Regions from separate parts of the Homo sapiens genome. Here regions 1, 2, 3 and 5 are each linked to region 4. Evidence: promoter capture Hi-C in 16 types of primary human blood cells and fetal thymus (Javierre and others, 2016). All regions are on one chromosome and are shown on one strand. The core of a region is centred on a gene start or on the middle of the fragment in contact, and the rest is flanking DNA. Distances in the headings are between cores, read along the strand shown. Region 1 overlaps CYRIB (CYFIP related Rac1 interactor B). Region 2 holds the start of GSDMC (gasdermin C). Region 3 overlaps ASAP1 (ArfGAP with SH3 domain, ankyrin repeat and PH domain 1). Region 4 holds the start of CYRIB (CYFIP related Rac1 interactor B). Region 5 has its middle 19 kb from the start of GSDMC.

Region 1 (2,700 bases), core at 182-2,681, 150 kb before region 4:
AGCTCAAGCAATCTCCCAACCTCAGCCTCCAAGTGTTGGGATTACAGAAATGAGCAAGCACACCCAGCCTATTTCTCATCTTCTACAGTTTTAGATACATGAATTAAGCGTAACCAGTAAAAATTTCAAGAAAACCTCTTTGATTTCTTTGGATGCTAAAGGGTCCTATTATGAGAAATCACTTGGTAGAATCTCTCTCCATCGCTACAGTAAGTCCTTTTCCCATATATGGGAAAGTAATCCTCAGGCCCTTGGTTAGTCAAACTTTTGTGTTCTTAAAATCATTTAAAATCAATGCTCAGATTCATGTATGTAAAACGACAGATGATGAGGAAAATAACTTGTGGACAAAAATGGTCTAAATGAATTAAAAGGCCAGGGTTGAAAGAAGATTAACTATAATCTTACAGTCTAACAAGCTTGCTTTACTTATAAAACAGATACTAAGCCAAATTCAGCATTATGAACATAAAAAAACTCTAAACTTCTGGAATGAATAAACATCTTTTTCACTAGGGAAGTCACAATTACAAAACTTTCAACTTACCTAACCTCTGAGAAAATTCGTAAAATTTCTTTAATTTGCCTACTAGTGGAACAACTGCACCCCATGCCTTCTCTTGCAACTTCTCATCTGCTGGATGCTGGATTGCCTTCAAAATCCAAAGAATAAAAATAGTTAGAGTTAAAAAAAAAAAAAGGTTCATTTTTACATTAAAATGTAGGCTTTAGCAAACATAGGAAACACTGGTATAATCCATAAAATATAGAATATTGAATCTAGGAGTGTTGAATATTTTTTTTTTTGAGAGAGCGTCTCACTCTGTTGCCCAGGCTGAAGTGCAGTGGCGTGATCTCGGCTCTCTACAACCTCTGCCTCCCAGGTTCAAGTGATTCTCCTGCCTCAGCCTCCCAAGTAGCTGGGACTACAGGCACGCGCCACCACACCCAGCTGAATTTTTTTATTTTTAGTAGAGATGGGGTTTCGCCATGTTGGCCAGGCTGGTCTCGAACTCCTGACCTCAGGTGATCCACCCACCTTGGCCTCCCAAAGTGCTGGGATTATAGGCGTGAGCCACCACGCACGGCTGAGTGTTGAATATTCTATATTGAGTGCTAAGGGTGAGTCTTCTCAACTCCACAGACACTCCATAGGAGTGCTAAGAGTGGGTCTTCTCAGCTCCATAGATACTTCAACCTTAGTTAGATACATAACTAACATAATACATTCTTAGTTATCCTTGCAATAGATATGAACATAATGAAAATTTAAAAATGATCCAATATGTTTGTTAAATATTTTATGCCTTGGTGCCCAGCAGATCCACAAAAAAAAATATTGCATATGTTTCCCATATCACAGAGTCTCTTAGTATTTCTTTGTCAAAGAATTATTTTAGCAGTAGAAAAGAAAACTCAAAAAGTAAGACAATAAGATGCCAACTCTGGGAACAGGCTAAGAAATTTCCAATAATTAAAATTCCAGGGTCTAAACTAGCATTAAGAAAACTACCTACGACTTAAGAACCTAAATCAAGCTGAAACTGTGATTTAAGAATTGTCAGCTGGGCGCCGTGGCTCACGCCTGTAATCCCAGCACTTTGGGAGGCTGAGGCAGGCGGATCACAAGGTCAGGAGTTCGAGACCAGCTTGACCAATGTGGTGAAACCCCGTCTCTACCAAAAATACAAAAATTAGTCAGGTGTGGTGGTGTGTGCCTGTAATCCCAGTTACTCAGGAGGCTGAGACAGGAGAATTGCTTGAACCCGGGAAGTGGAGGCTGCAGTGAGCCGAGATCATGCCATTGCCCTCTAGCCTGGGTGATAGAGCGAGACTCTGTCTTAAAAAAAAAAAAAAGAAAATACAAAAAAGAAGAATTGTCACAGATACTTATTCTCTATAACTAAAATCCTATCCTATTCTAGATAATAACTTTTCTCAGGCTTTCCTGAGTAAGATGAAAAACTAGTTTCAAATCTGAAAGGGAAGAAAATATAATCTAGAGATCCTTAATATAAATGACTTCTTCTATACCCAGTCTTTCAAATCATTAAGTAATCTTTTCTGAATAGAGGGTTATTTCCAAAAATACATATTTTTTTGTCTTTATCTTTCATTTGCCCATAGATGTTTTTTGTACTCCTTTACAGAAGTTAACATGTTCTTCAACAACCTGATTTACTTTCTCTAACATCTTGAAACAAACTAAACATACCATCTGAAATTCAGAACTAAAGCAGGGACCTGCTTATAAACACTACCAAGAGGTTATATGACATGTCTCAATACTCCCAAGGCACTAGTATTCTGACTCCATCCACACAAAAAACAAAAATTCAGGAAAGCAAAATAAAATTGAACCCAGACAGATCTAACGGATGCTCTGAACAAATTAGCTGCAAACTGAATTAATGGGCTATATACTGGTTAAGCAATTTACTTTACAAGCTTGGCACCATTTTCAAATTGATGTTTTATTCAATATTTTTAAATGATGCTTAAACCCATTAGAAGCCTGAAGTCAATCCTACTTATGTCATTAATCTAGAAATATTGTAACATTGAAGAAAATCTGACATTACAACATGTAACAATCCTTTGTTCACATTCTATAGTAATGAGAACATCTCAAAGAGACCTTGATATGCTGATATAGATGAAAAAAAATCCTTTGGCCGCAGGCCCAGACTTGGTAATGAT
Region 2 (2,700 bases), core at 186-2,685, 230 kb before region 4:
CTGGGCAACAAGAGCAAAACTCCGTGTCAAAAAAAAATGAGATCCTGTCATTCGCAACAACATAGAGGGGACTAGAGGTCATTAAGTGAAATAAGCCAGGCACAGAAAGACAAACTTTACAATGTTCTCACTTATTTATGAAAGCTAAAAATTAAGACAATTGAAGTTATGGAGATAGAGTAAAATGATGGTTACCAGAGGCTGGGAAAGATATTAGGGGGTGGGAGGGAGGTGGGGATGGTAAATGAGCACAAAAAAAATAGTTAGACTGAATAAGATCTAGTATTTCTGAATAAGATCTAGTATTCGATAGCACAACAGGGTGACTATAGTCAATAATTGTACAGTTAGAAATAACTAAAACAGTATAATTGTATTGTTACAATTAAGAGTATAATTGTATTGTTACAATTATAACAAATAGGAATAGGACTTCCTAACTACATGGAATTCAGTTTTTGAACTTTCTAAATATGTTCAATAATGAAGAGAGACAGAATTTTCAACAGTTCATGTAAAATTCCTGATGTGACCATTTCAATTCTCTGATATGGGCCATGTAAGAGGTCACTGGACAAGCAGAGAATAATGAGAATATAAGATGCTTCTTTAAGACTGGACCTGTGCAATAATGTATCGAAGATATATTCCTTAGCCTTACATGCTATCAGGAATTCTCCATTATTAAGACGAACTTAACTTCCTTTTCAGTCAAATTCTGTAGGAAAAAAAACTCTTCGACTCATTTCACAAACCCATCCAGAACATTTTTGTCGCTGATGATAGTAATCTTTTCTTTTTCATCCCCTGATCCCATTAGGACTTACCAGATTATATATCCCTTTGTCCTGTAGAGAAATAGCAGGATTGGCCGGGCACGGTGGCTCACGTCTGTAATCCCAGCACTTTGGGAGGCTGAGGCCGGTGGATCACGAGGTCAGGAGTTCAAGATCAGCCAGGCCAAGATGGTGAAACCCTGTCTCTACTGAAAATACAAAAATTAGCCAGGAATGGTGGCAGGCACCTGTAATCCCAGCTACTTGGGAGGCTGAGGCAGAGAACTGCTTGAACCCGGGAGGCAGAGGTTGCAGTGAGCTGAGACCATGCCGCTGCACTCCAGCCTGGGCAACTCCGTCTCAAAAAAAAAAAAAAGAGAGAAAAATAGCACAATTGAGTAGGGCCCCTTCCAATCTTCAGACCTCCTGCGGTCAAGTAGAAATTGTCAGACAAACTCCAGGACCAGATCAATGTGATTCTGTTCACTGTTCTCTTCTCACCAATGGGTCCCTGACTCAATTTCCAATGCAGTATCCTGGAAAAATAAGCACAGGAGGGCCCTGTTCATTTCCAGAAGAGTAAGTCTGGAACTAGTTCTGGATCACAGAACCTTAGCTCTCAAGTCCTCAGCAAAAAGTCTGTGGAACAAAATCAAGTGGCATCTAATTATGTATCTCCTGAATCAGAATTAAAAAGGCTTCCTCAGAGTCACACCCATTTCCTTTCACATACAGAACTAGCTGAGCAAGTCTTTGATTCATGGATTCCCAGCAACTCTAGCTGGAACAACTTCTTTGGCTCGTATTCCTCTGGTATATGTGCTGAATTTAGAATTCAATCACTGGACACCAGGAAAGGCAACTTCAGCAGGAGGGACAGGCACTAGCGCCAGGGCCCTGGGAAGCACCTCTGAACTGCCTACATGTGGGGCTCTGTACAACAGGAATTACTGTGCTTAATGCCTCCTCTGTGTTAAGCACCATGCATGTATTATCTAAATCCAATCTTACAACAATCTTTATTTTAAATATAAATAAAAAGGGGATTTGTGAAAGGAATTAAAAACTTGCCTGAAACCCATGTCCTTTCCAATTACTCCCTATGGGTTTCAAGATGAAGTAAAGTGCCTATAGGAGCAGAAACTGTATAAACAGGATTGCTACACCTTTAAGTTTTGAGTAACTTCCTGGAACTGACACTCAATACAGCAACATTCCTTTCAGCTGACAGTATTTCACAATGCATTTACTTTACTTTTGTTTTCTTTTAATATTCATAAAAGTCTTATGCCTTCCCTTTCCACTGTAAGAACCTGATATGCACTTCACTTGGGACAAAGCTCAGACTGTGCTTTCTGCATATCACCACCAGACACGATGTTCCAAATTAACTTTCACGTTCTATAATTTCCATTGTAAAAACTATAGACTTGAAATATAAAATTATAATTACATACATAACCCTTCTGTGTACCAACATTCTATAGGCCCCAACCTGCTATTGGGTATTCCAGAAGTCGGAGAAAAGTAACTTAGCTGTTTGGGAACAGTTATGTGAGTCACACCAACCTAAATAACAGATAAAGAAAAGCTCTCTAAAAGACAGTGATATTTATTCAAGAATGAGCATTGCAATGGGAATATGCGTGCCATCACAAACTATGTGTGTATTCAGACAGGTAAGGGAAGAAAAAAGTTTTAAAAAGAAAAATAAGAAGGATTACACAATTGTTTTGAATCAATTCTTTGCTTACAAGGATCAGTAACAAAGGTGGCACCAGTCCAAGGTTAGACAGGCAGTTGGTGGACAGATGTCCTGGCAGAAGTATTTTTTGTTTAAGGTTGCAATAGCCTTTGTGCAAAGCTGTAGTTTTTAGTTTTGTTTTGTCTTTAATTTTTATGGGTACATAGATGTATATATTTA
Region 3 (2,700 bases), core at 34-2,533, 190 kb after region 4:
TATTGAGCGAAGCTGAGTTCCGCCTCCTGTTAGATCAAGGGCAGCATCAGACTCTCATAGGAGACGGAACCCTACTGTGAACTGCATATGCAAGGGATCTAGGTTGCACGCTACTTATGAGAATCTAATGATAAATGTAATGTGCTCAAATCATCCCGAAACCATCCTCCCGGCTACCCTCTTGTATGTGGAAAAACTGTCATCCACAAAACCGGTCCCTGGTGCCAAAAAGGTTGGGGACCGATGCCCTAGAGCAGACCACCTGGGTTTGAATGCTGAATCTGAGATCTACTTAATGCTCTGTGACTCAGTTTGTGAGCTCTTAAATAAGGGTAACTATGGTTACTACCTGGTAGGGCTGCTGTGAGGAGTAAATGAGGCTACATACAGATGAGGCAGAGGATAATGCTCACCAAATACTCCCCTTTCCAGGTCTCCTGCAGCTCCTGCTCCCTCCCATTTCCAGGTCTCCTGCAGCTAGGTAGGTGGGGCCAAGATCACAGTTCAAACCAATGAACTACAACACCTAGGAAAGCTGTGAAAAGTATGCATACGCTTCTCTAGTCTCTCTCTTCCCCTGTAGAGAAGGGGGAGCTTCCATGCGTCTAAGTCTCTGAGTTGCTGTTGCTAAGCAGAACAGATCCCTTCAGTAGACATGTCACACGAGAAGAAAATAAACCATGTTAAGCCATGGAGATTTGGGGGTTCATGTATTACTGCAGTATATCCTAGCCTATCTTAACCAATAAAACATGTAAAGTACTCAAAGTGCCAGTGCCTGGCATACAGTCACCACAGTATAAAGACAAGCTCCTGTTATCAGAATTACTTGTATAGTAAAAGTTAACCATAAAAATAAAAATAATGAAAACTTCACCTGCCTTAAGGCTGTGAGGGTGAGACCAGCTCTTTTATCAAAGAGATATTGATTAGCAAAATGTTAGAGACAGCATAAAGCATTCCAGTACCAATCATTCTTAAAGTTCAATCTTTTCTTATGGTCAATGAAACTTTGCTCCAATAAGCGATGGTTTTTCTTCTCCCTTCTCCACTCTCCCTTTTCCTTCTTCCTTCCTCTCACATAGAACCAAAACTCTATACCAAATGTAAGTGAAATAATACTAGACAATCACGTACACATATCGCGTGCATACACCCTTTAGACAAGTGCTATGAACAACATGCAAAAGCCACAAGCTGAAAATGCAATCCTATTTAAAATGTATTATTTGAAATCCTACCTTGAAACACTGAATGTGAATCCTTATAAGAAAAAAAAAAAAAAAAAACAAAAACCATATTCAAATTCAGCCTGAGGTATATATACACTAGGATACCTGTTTATTGGATGTATTTAAGACAAGGTATACCTGTATTGACAAACAGAAAATTCAAATAATCAGTTATGGTACAGATATACAATGAAACAGTATGCAGCCTGTTAGAGCAAATTTGCATATATATATATAAAATACACGGCTTTTTTTTTTTTTTTTTTAGCTTAAACTCACTTAATAGCAAAACCTGTTCTGACTCCATTTGGTTGGTAATCTCTTGACTAGACTTGAGGTGGGGCACCTAATAGTCTTTATATATCAGACTTCATGTGAATATTCAAGTTTCACTGCAGACACAAAACTGTGTTTAATTATAAGCATCTTCCCAAGAAGTCACTAGGGGGTGTGCTGCATAATATAAGGCATGTACACCCTGTCACCCTTCTGAAATCGGTAAAACTCTGAATTTTGAAACAAATCTAACCCCAAGGATTTTGGACCTGAATGAGATATATACCTATACCTGCAGATATCTATGCAAATCAGCAGTATCTCTGTGTACAAATCCATAAAATTGTTTCAAATACTACTCTTAAATATTAACAGAAGCTAGAATTATAATTTTTATTTTAAAATTTTCCATATATCTCAAATTTTTATAATAAATATGTATGATTTTTTAAATAGAAGGAGTTAAAAATAAACCTTTCCCTCTTACCCACCCACCAACCCACATGGATAGATCACATTTCACAAAATGTCCCACAGTATTAATTGGTAGTGAGGCAGTGAGGCATGTCAGGAAATAAGGGGATACCTGGTAGATCAAACGCTGAAAACTGCCAATGATTGATGACCATTTTTTTAAAAGATAAGGTTTTAAAAATGCATTATATAGTTCAGGGCACCCAGAAGCTACCAATTTTACCATTAGGCACATCCATGCTCTCCATACTTTTTAACATTTCAAAGAAGAACTTGAGAAATAATCTGCTGGCTACAAATCTAGATCCAACCTGTACATTATCAGATATTCTTATTTGAGGGGAAAGAAAAGAAGAAAAATAAAAAAAAAAACAACTTTAACACAAACCACAATACCCTACAGTCAGAGATTGCAAACAGGAAATGCTATGCAGATGGAGAAATCTTTGCTTTGCTTCAACAGCTCTGAAGCAATAACTGCCCTCCAACTGTTTAATGAGACTCAAGCTCTTATGCAAGCTATAGAATTGTCCAAAGGCCTCCGGAGAGAAGAAACCAGATGCATGGTGAGTCCTGGCTGACCTAGAATACTTCCGGGTGACTCCCACTATTTAAAAAATAATTTATATACATTTTCTAAAACCATTGCTGCCTTGGGACTTTCAAAGGGTATGGCATTTAAATGGTTTTCCTCTGTCCATTGAGAATCTATTTCAAT
Region 4 (2,700 bases), core at 160-2,659:
CCCTGGAGATCCTGGATGGATGTTACAGGGCAAGGAAGCCAAAATGTGGAAGCACACCGACTCACCTCTCAAAATTCACCACCCACTCGTTCATCTCACAATTATCTATGGGGTGCTTCCCACGTGCTTCAACGCACCCTTTCTAGGTGCTGGGGATGCAGAAATTCAAGGTGACTGGCAATGACACTTTCTATCACTGCGCCCCCTGCAGGCCAGGAAATCTACGCTCGTTTTCTCAAGGCCCCACTCGCAGCAGCCCATTTCACAGACGGGACCCTAAGACTCAGAGAGGGTAAGCGACTTGCCCAAGGTCACACAGCTAGTAAGCGGCAGGGCCAGGAATTAAACATAGCTGCAAAGTGCATGTGACACTCCCCCGCAGCCCCAGCTCTATCCCTCCGCACCCCTCCACCTCTTGCAGCAGGGTGGGTAGCAAAGGCACACTCCAAGTAGCTCCAGCATGGTAAGACCTCGATTCCTCCTTCGTTCCACTCCTGACACAGGACACACGTTTCAAAGGACACACAGGTTTTTCCCAACCCCAGTGTGTGTGTACACAGCCCCAGGAAAGCCCTGCAGGCTGCAAGGGCACCCACCCGCTAACACTGAACTTCCATTTAAAAAGAAAGATAATGAAAAGATAAAAGGCGAAGAGGAAGTGCTCTTTAAACACAGGCGGGTGGCTACCCCAGGAGGAAGTCTTGAGGCCAGTGGAGATTTTGTTCACCCCCTCTAGTTCCTCAAATCCAATGCGACTGGTCTTCCAAGCCCCTGATGGGAGGTGGCCGGGGGCCAGCGCTGCTCCCGGGGTCAGTCCCCGCACCGACACCCGGCTCGCAGGAAGGGTCTGCCAGGGACCAGCCACCCCGACCCGAGCGCCCCCTGCCTCGAGGCGCACAAGGCGCCGGCTCCGCAGCTGGGTGGACCCGGGCGGCGGCCCCGCTGCGCGCTCCCCTCGCGTCCGCCCGCCGCCCCCCGCGCACTCGAGGCGCCTCCCCCGGGACCCCCGCGCCCGCCGGCCCGGACGCCCCCACCACGGCGGCGCCCCCTGTCCACCCGCCGCAGCGCCCGGCCCGGCGGCCCGGATGGTACCTCCGCCTCTCCCCGCACCCATCACGCGCGCGCCCCGCACCCCGCGCCCTCTCCGGGGGCAAATCGGATCCAGGGGCGCGCGCGCGGGCCGGCCGGGCGGCGGCGCCTTCAGAGCCCCGGCACGTACCTGGCGGCCCGGGCGGGCGAGGGGAGCGCGGCGCGGGAGCGCAGGAGCCTCGGAGCCTCCGGTGCCGCCGCCGCCGCCGTTTCCGGGTTGGCGGGGCTCACGTCACCGCCACAGGTTTGCGAGCTGCCCCCGCCGCGGCGGCAGCAGCAGCAGCAGCAGCAGCCCGGGCGAGTGCCAGGCGAGAAATAACTATAAAAGGAAGAGGCGCGGCGAGGAGGAAGAGGAAGCGCTGTTTACCTTCGAGAAGCCGAGCCGCCGGCGCTCGCACAAAAGGAGGACGCTCGCCTCGCGACGCGCCTCCCCCCGCGCCCAGTCCCCGCCGCATCGCGGGGCCCCGGCGTCAGCGCGCGCCGCGCCCCGGGACCGCCCCGCGCCGGCCCCCACCCCAGAACCCCGCGCCCGCCTGGCCCGTGTCCTCCCGAGCCGGGGCGCCACGGGCCCGGGACGGTGGTGACCTTGGGCAAGTCACCGCGGGGCGCGCTGCGATTGGGGGTCATCGCCCTCATTGTGCGAGGAGGAAACCCGGCTCCGAGAGGCGCAAGAGTGACCCCCAAGGTCACTGCCTGTCAGGCAGGGCTTGGGCTCGAACCCCGGTCTCCAGACCTTCAGGCCGGCCAGGTTCCCATCCCTGGGTCGCTTCCCCCTCACCTGGACTTCAGGAATGGTGACAGCCCCTGCCTGGCTCACCTCGCAGCGGGGTCAGTGAGAGGAATGCTGTCCACGCACCCATTCAGCCCTCCCGCAGATACTTACTGGGCCTACTAAGTGCCCGGGCTGTTCTAGGCCCTGGAGCTGCAGCTGCGAACCAAAACAAAATCCCTGCCCGGGAGGGGCAGCGGGGACAGGCCGTAAATATCTGATGGGTCCTATGGTGCTAAGTGCTGTGCCAGAGGAAAAATAAAGCGGGGTGAGGGGACGGTGCGGGCTGTCGGTGCTACCCTAAGCGGTTCTCCAAGGACTTTAAATTTAGTACAGAAATTCCCACATAAAAAGCTCCTCGCCATAATTCCAGTTTCAGGTATTATGGGAGACCTCATCTTTCCCCTGATCTAGAATGGAAAATACTGTGTTTTTCTCCCTGTAACAGGACATGCCTAGGAAACTGATACTCTCCTTCCCTCTGCCTTGCTCCCCTGGCCCAGAAGCCCATCCTATCATTATCTTGACATTCAACCAGAAATTTCTCGGGAAGATAGACAACATTCTCTCAAGTATCTTTCTGCTGTCCTCTAGCAGGGTATCAAAAGGGTTACATCAAAGGCTTCCATTGTCTTTCCACCTCCACCTCCAGCTATAGGGGGGTTGGAGTGTGCTCACATCATACTCAGTGCTGAGTTACCTGATTAGGAGCCAGTTGTTCCATTTCTTTTCTTTTTTCTTTCTTTTTTTTTTTTTTGTCTAAGACAGGATTTTGCTCTGTTTCCCAGGCTAGGTAGCGCAGTGATGCGATAGCTCACTGCAGCCTCAAATTCCTGGGCTCA
Region 5 (2,700 bases), core at 141-2,640, 210 kb before region 4:
AAAGAAATAAGTAACCCTGAAGTCAAAGCTTTAAATATGAAAAAAAATAAGGCATGAGATTCTTTTAGTAAATGGGATGCAGGATATGTAATGTTTCTTGGCCAGCTACAAAGTTAATTGATTTTCCTACCTATTGAGGGTTCACCTGTCAACTTCCAGAGGCACTGCACAATGTCCAGCACCTGAGGAGATGTGTAATTCAGAACAAATAAGAAGGTGTTCTTCCCCAACTCTTACTCTTTTCCTCCTGCCTTATATCCCAGGAAACTGTTGGATTGATGGACCGAGAACCATTATTTCTGGAGCAGTGCATAAGAGAAGGGAGAACCTGTATGTGGTAACAGAGGCCACAGAACTGATCAGCACTCCTGTGCTAAAGGACAATAGCAGTATGATTGATTTCAGCAAATGTCCATCCTTGGAATACTTATGTCAAGATACAGAGCCACTGACTGAGTGTTGTGGCTCACACCTGTAATCCCAGTAATTTGGGAGGTCAAGGTGAGAGGACTGCTGGGGCCCAGGAGTTCAAGATCAGCCTGATCAAATGTGGCAAGACTCTGTCTCTACAATTTTTTTTTTAATTAGCCAGGCATGCTGGTACATCCCTGTAGTCCCAGCTACTCAAGAGGCTGAGGTGGGAGGATCACTTGAGCCCAGAAGATCATGGCTGCAATAAGCTGTGGTAGTGCCACTGTACTCCAGCCTGAGAGACAGACCAAGATTCTGTTTCACAAAAAAAAAAAAAAAAAAAAAAAAAAAAACACAGAGCCACCCTAAAGTGGAATGGGGATACCAAGAGCAAGCCAGCCCAGCCTCACTTCCAAGAGGGGACTGGATCCTAATCAGGACCTGTTTCTGGGAGGTCAGAAGGGGTGGGGTAATTATTTCCCACTTCTTGGGTGCCATGAAAACCTGACTCCTGTCCTGAGACTATATTCTAACATTCTCATTTATAGTGCTTTAATATATGAGATTATTCAGTATTGATAAAATTGAAAGTCAATTTAATTATGTGATACTACATTTTGCTTTGGGTAAATGATGGATTCTAGAAGATCTAAAGGGGTGGCTGCTATATTACCTACATGTTTGGTTTTATAGCTGGAAAAAAAAATAAGGAACCAACAGCAACAAACCTTCACAGTTAAAGTACCCTAAATGCTATAACATCCTGAGCAGAAATGTTTTATGGCATGAGACTGAAAAATCTTCAAGCACATGTGATTTACCTAAGTCACTCACAATAACCAACTATAATATTTTAAATTAACTTAACCAAATGCATTTATCAAATGTGTATTCACTTAAAGAGTATGCTAGGGACATAGAAAGTTTGTGAGTGTGTGTGTGTGTGTGTGTGTGTTACAATATTAAATAATATGCAATGTATTTTATGTGTCATTTGTCTGCACTTAAGAGCTTTAGAAACTAAAGAAAAGTAACTGGGAAGTGAAATGACCTTCCCAAGTTTAGTTGGTGAGTTACTCCTAGAAGAGGACTCGCCAAGGTTTGTGAGTTAGTCCCGCAAGAGGCACAGGCCCCACTGAGGTCTTTTGATTCCAAGCCCCATAAACAAAGGCACTTAAACCAAATAAAACATCACTCTCGTTTGAGATTGCTTTGATACCTAGCTTTAGGTTTCCACCTCCTTGAAATGGTGGACTGGGCTTTGTGAGAAGGAGGCAGAAGCCCTGTATTTTTCACACAGGGCAGCTGCTCAGCTGAAGTGGTACACTTTGGTTCTTTTCTCTTCTGTGTGTATTTTCCATAGGTATTTTCTTTTTTTTTTTATTATACTTTAAGTTTTAGGGTACATGTGCACAATGTGCAGGTTTGTTACATATGTATACATGTGCCATGTTGGTGTGCTGCACCCATTAACTCATCATTTAACAAAATATCTCCTAATGCTATCCCTCCCCTCCTCCCTTCCCCCACCCCACAACAGGCCCCAGTGTGTGATGTTCCCCTTCCTGTGTCCACGTGTTCTCATTGTTCAATTCCCACCTATGAGTGAGAACATGCGGTGTTTGGTTTTTTGTCCTTGCGATAGTTTGCTGAGAATGATGGTTTCCAGCTTCATCCATGTCCCTACAAAGGACATGAACTCATCATTTTTTATGGCTGCATAGTATTCTATAGGTATTTTCTTTGTGGTTATTACCACAAGGATTACATAAAATATTTTATAACTACAACTGTGGATTATAGGCTGGTAACAATGTAACTTTAATTGGATAATAAAACTCGACACTTATTTCTCTCATCACTACACTTTACATTCTTCATGTCAGAGTTTATGTCTTTTTAAGATATAACATCTTTGTCACTCAGGCTGGAGTGCAGCAGCACGATCACAGCTCACCACAGCCTTGAACTCTTGGGCTCCAGTGATCCTCCTGCCTCAGGATCCACAGTAGCAGGAATTATGGGTACACACCACCACACCGGTTAATTTTAAAAGAATTTTTTAGAAGTGGGGTCTGATATGGTTTGGAATGCATCCCCTCCAAATGTTGAACTGTGATCCCTAATTTGGAGGTGGAACTTGGTAGGAGGTATTGGATAATGAAGGTGGATCCGTTGTGAATGGCTTAGTGTCACCAGGTTGATGATGAGTGAGTCCTCACTATTTGTTTACATGAGTGCTAGTTGTTTAAAAAGGCCTGGCACCTCTTCCTCTCTCTCTCTCTCACT

What was found. The method cuts DNA at HindIII sites, captures the fragments that hold promoters and counts their contacts. A CHiCAGO score of 5 or more calls a contact.
Region 1: a contact is called between a fragment that was not itself captured here and the fragment with the promoter of CYRIB in region 4, in 11 of 17 cell types (non-activated CD4 T cells, total CD8 T cells, naive CD8 T cells and 8 more). The highest score is 13.2, in non-activated CD4 T cells.
Region 2: a fragment that was not itself captured here is called in contact with the fragment with the promoter of CYRIB in region 4 in 1 of 17 cell types (neutrophils); the score reaches 6.2 in neutrophils.
Region 3: a fragment that was not itself captured here is called in contact with the fragment with the promoter of CYRIB in region 4 in 1 of 17 cell types (neutrophils); the score reaches 5.0 in neutrophils.
Region 5: a fragment that was not itself captured here is called in contact with the fragment with the promoter of CYRIB in region 4 in 1 of 17 cell types (neutrophils); the score reaches 5.2 in neutrophils.

Annotation. Positions count from the first base shown.
Region 1 is chr8:129,861,682-129,864,381 of GRCh38, forward strand. CYRIB (CYFIP related Rac1 interactor B) reads right to left here. Exons shown (of 14, transcript NM_001353258.2): 7 at 548-653. Among named protein-coding and RNA genes, the nearest start is that of GSDMC, 76 kb to the left of the region's middle. The HindIII fragment of the contact is 2,029 bases long and covers 418-2,446 here.
Region 2 is chr8:129,785,184-129,787,883 of GRCh38, forward strand. It overlaps GSDMC (gasdermin C), which reads right to left and starts at 1,441. Exons shown (of 14, transcript NM_031415.3): 1 at 828-1,441. The HindIII fragment of the contact is 4,714 bases long and covers 1-2,700 here.
Region 3 is chr8:130,204,112-130,206,811 of GRCh38, forward strand. The region is part of intron 5 of ASAP1 (ArfGAP with SH3 domain, ankyrin repeat and PH domain 1); the gene reads right to left. Among named protein-coding and RNA genes, the nearest start is that of ASAP1-IT1, 91 kb to the right of the region's middle. RefSeq lists an enhancer at 1-752. The HindIII fragment of the contact is 6,359 bases long and covers 1-2,700 here.
Region 4 is chr8:130,015,151-130,017,850 of GRCh38, forward strand. CYRIB (CYFIP related Rac1 interactor B) reads right to left here and starts at 1,410. Exons shown (of 14, transcript NM_001353258.2): 1 at 1,220-1,410. RefSeq lists silencers at 703-972, 1,163-1,352, 1,443-1,512, 1,563-1,622. The HindIII fragment of the contact is 5,812 bases long and covers 1-2,700 here.
Region 5 is chr8:129,804,125-129,806,824 of GRCh38, forward strand. No RefSeq gene overlaps it. Among named protein-coding and RNA genes, the nearest start is that of GSDMC, 19 kb to the left of the region's middle. The HindIII fragment of the contact is 2,729 bases long and covers 27-2,700 here.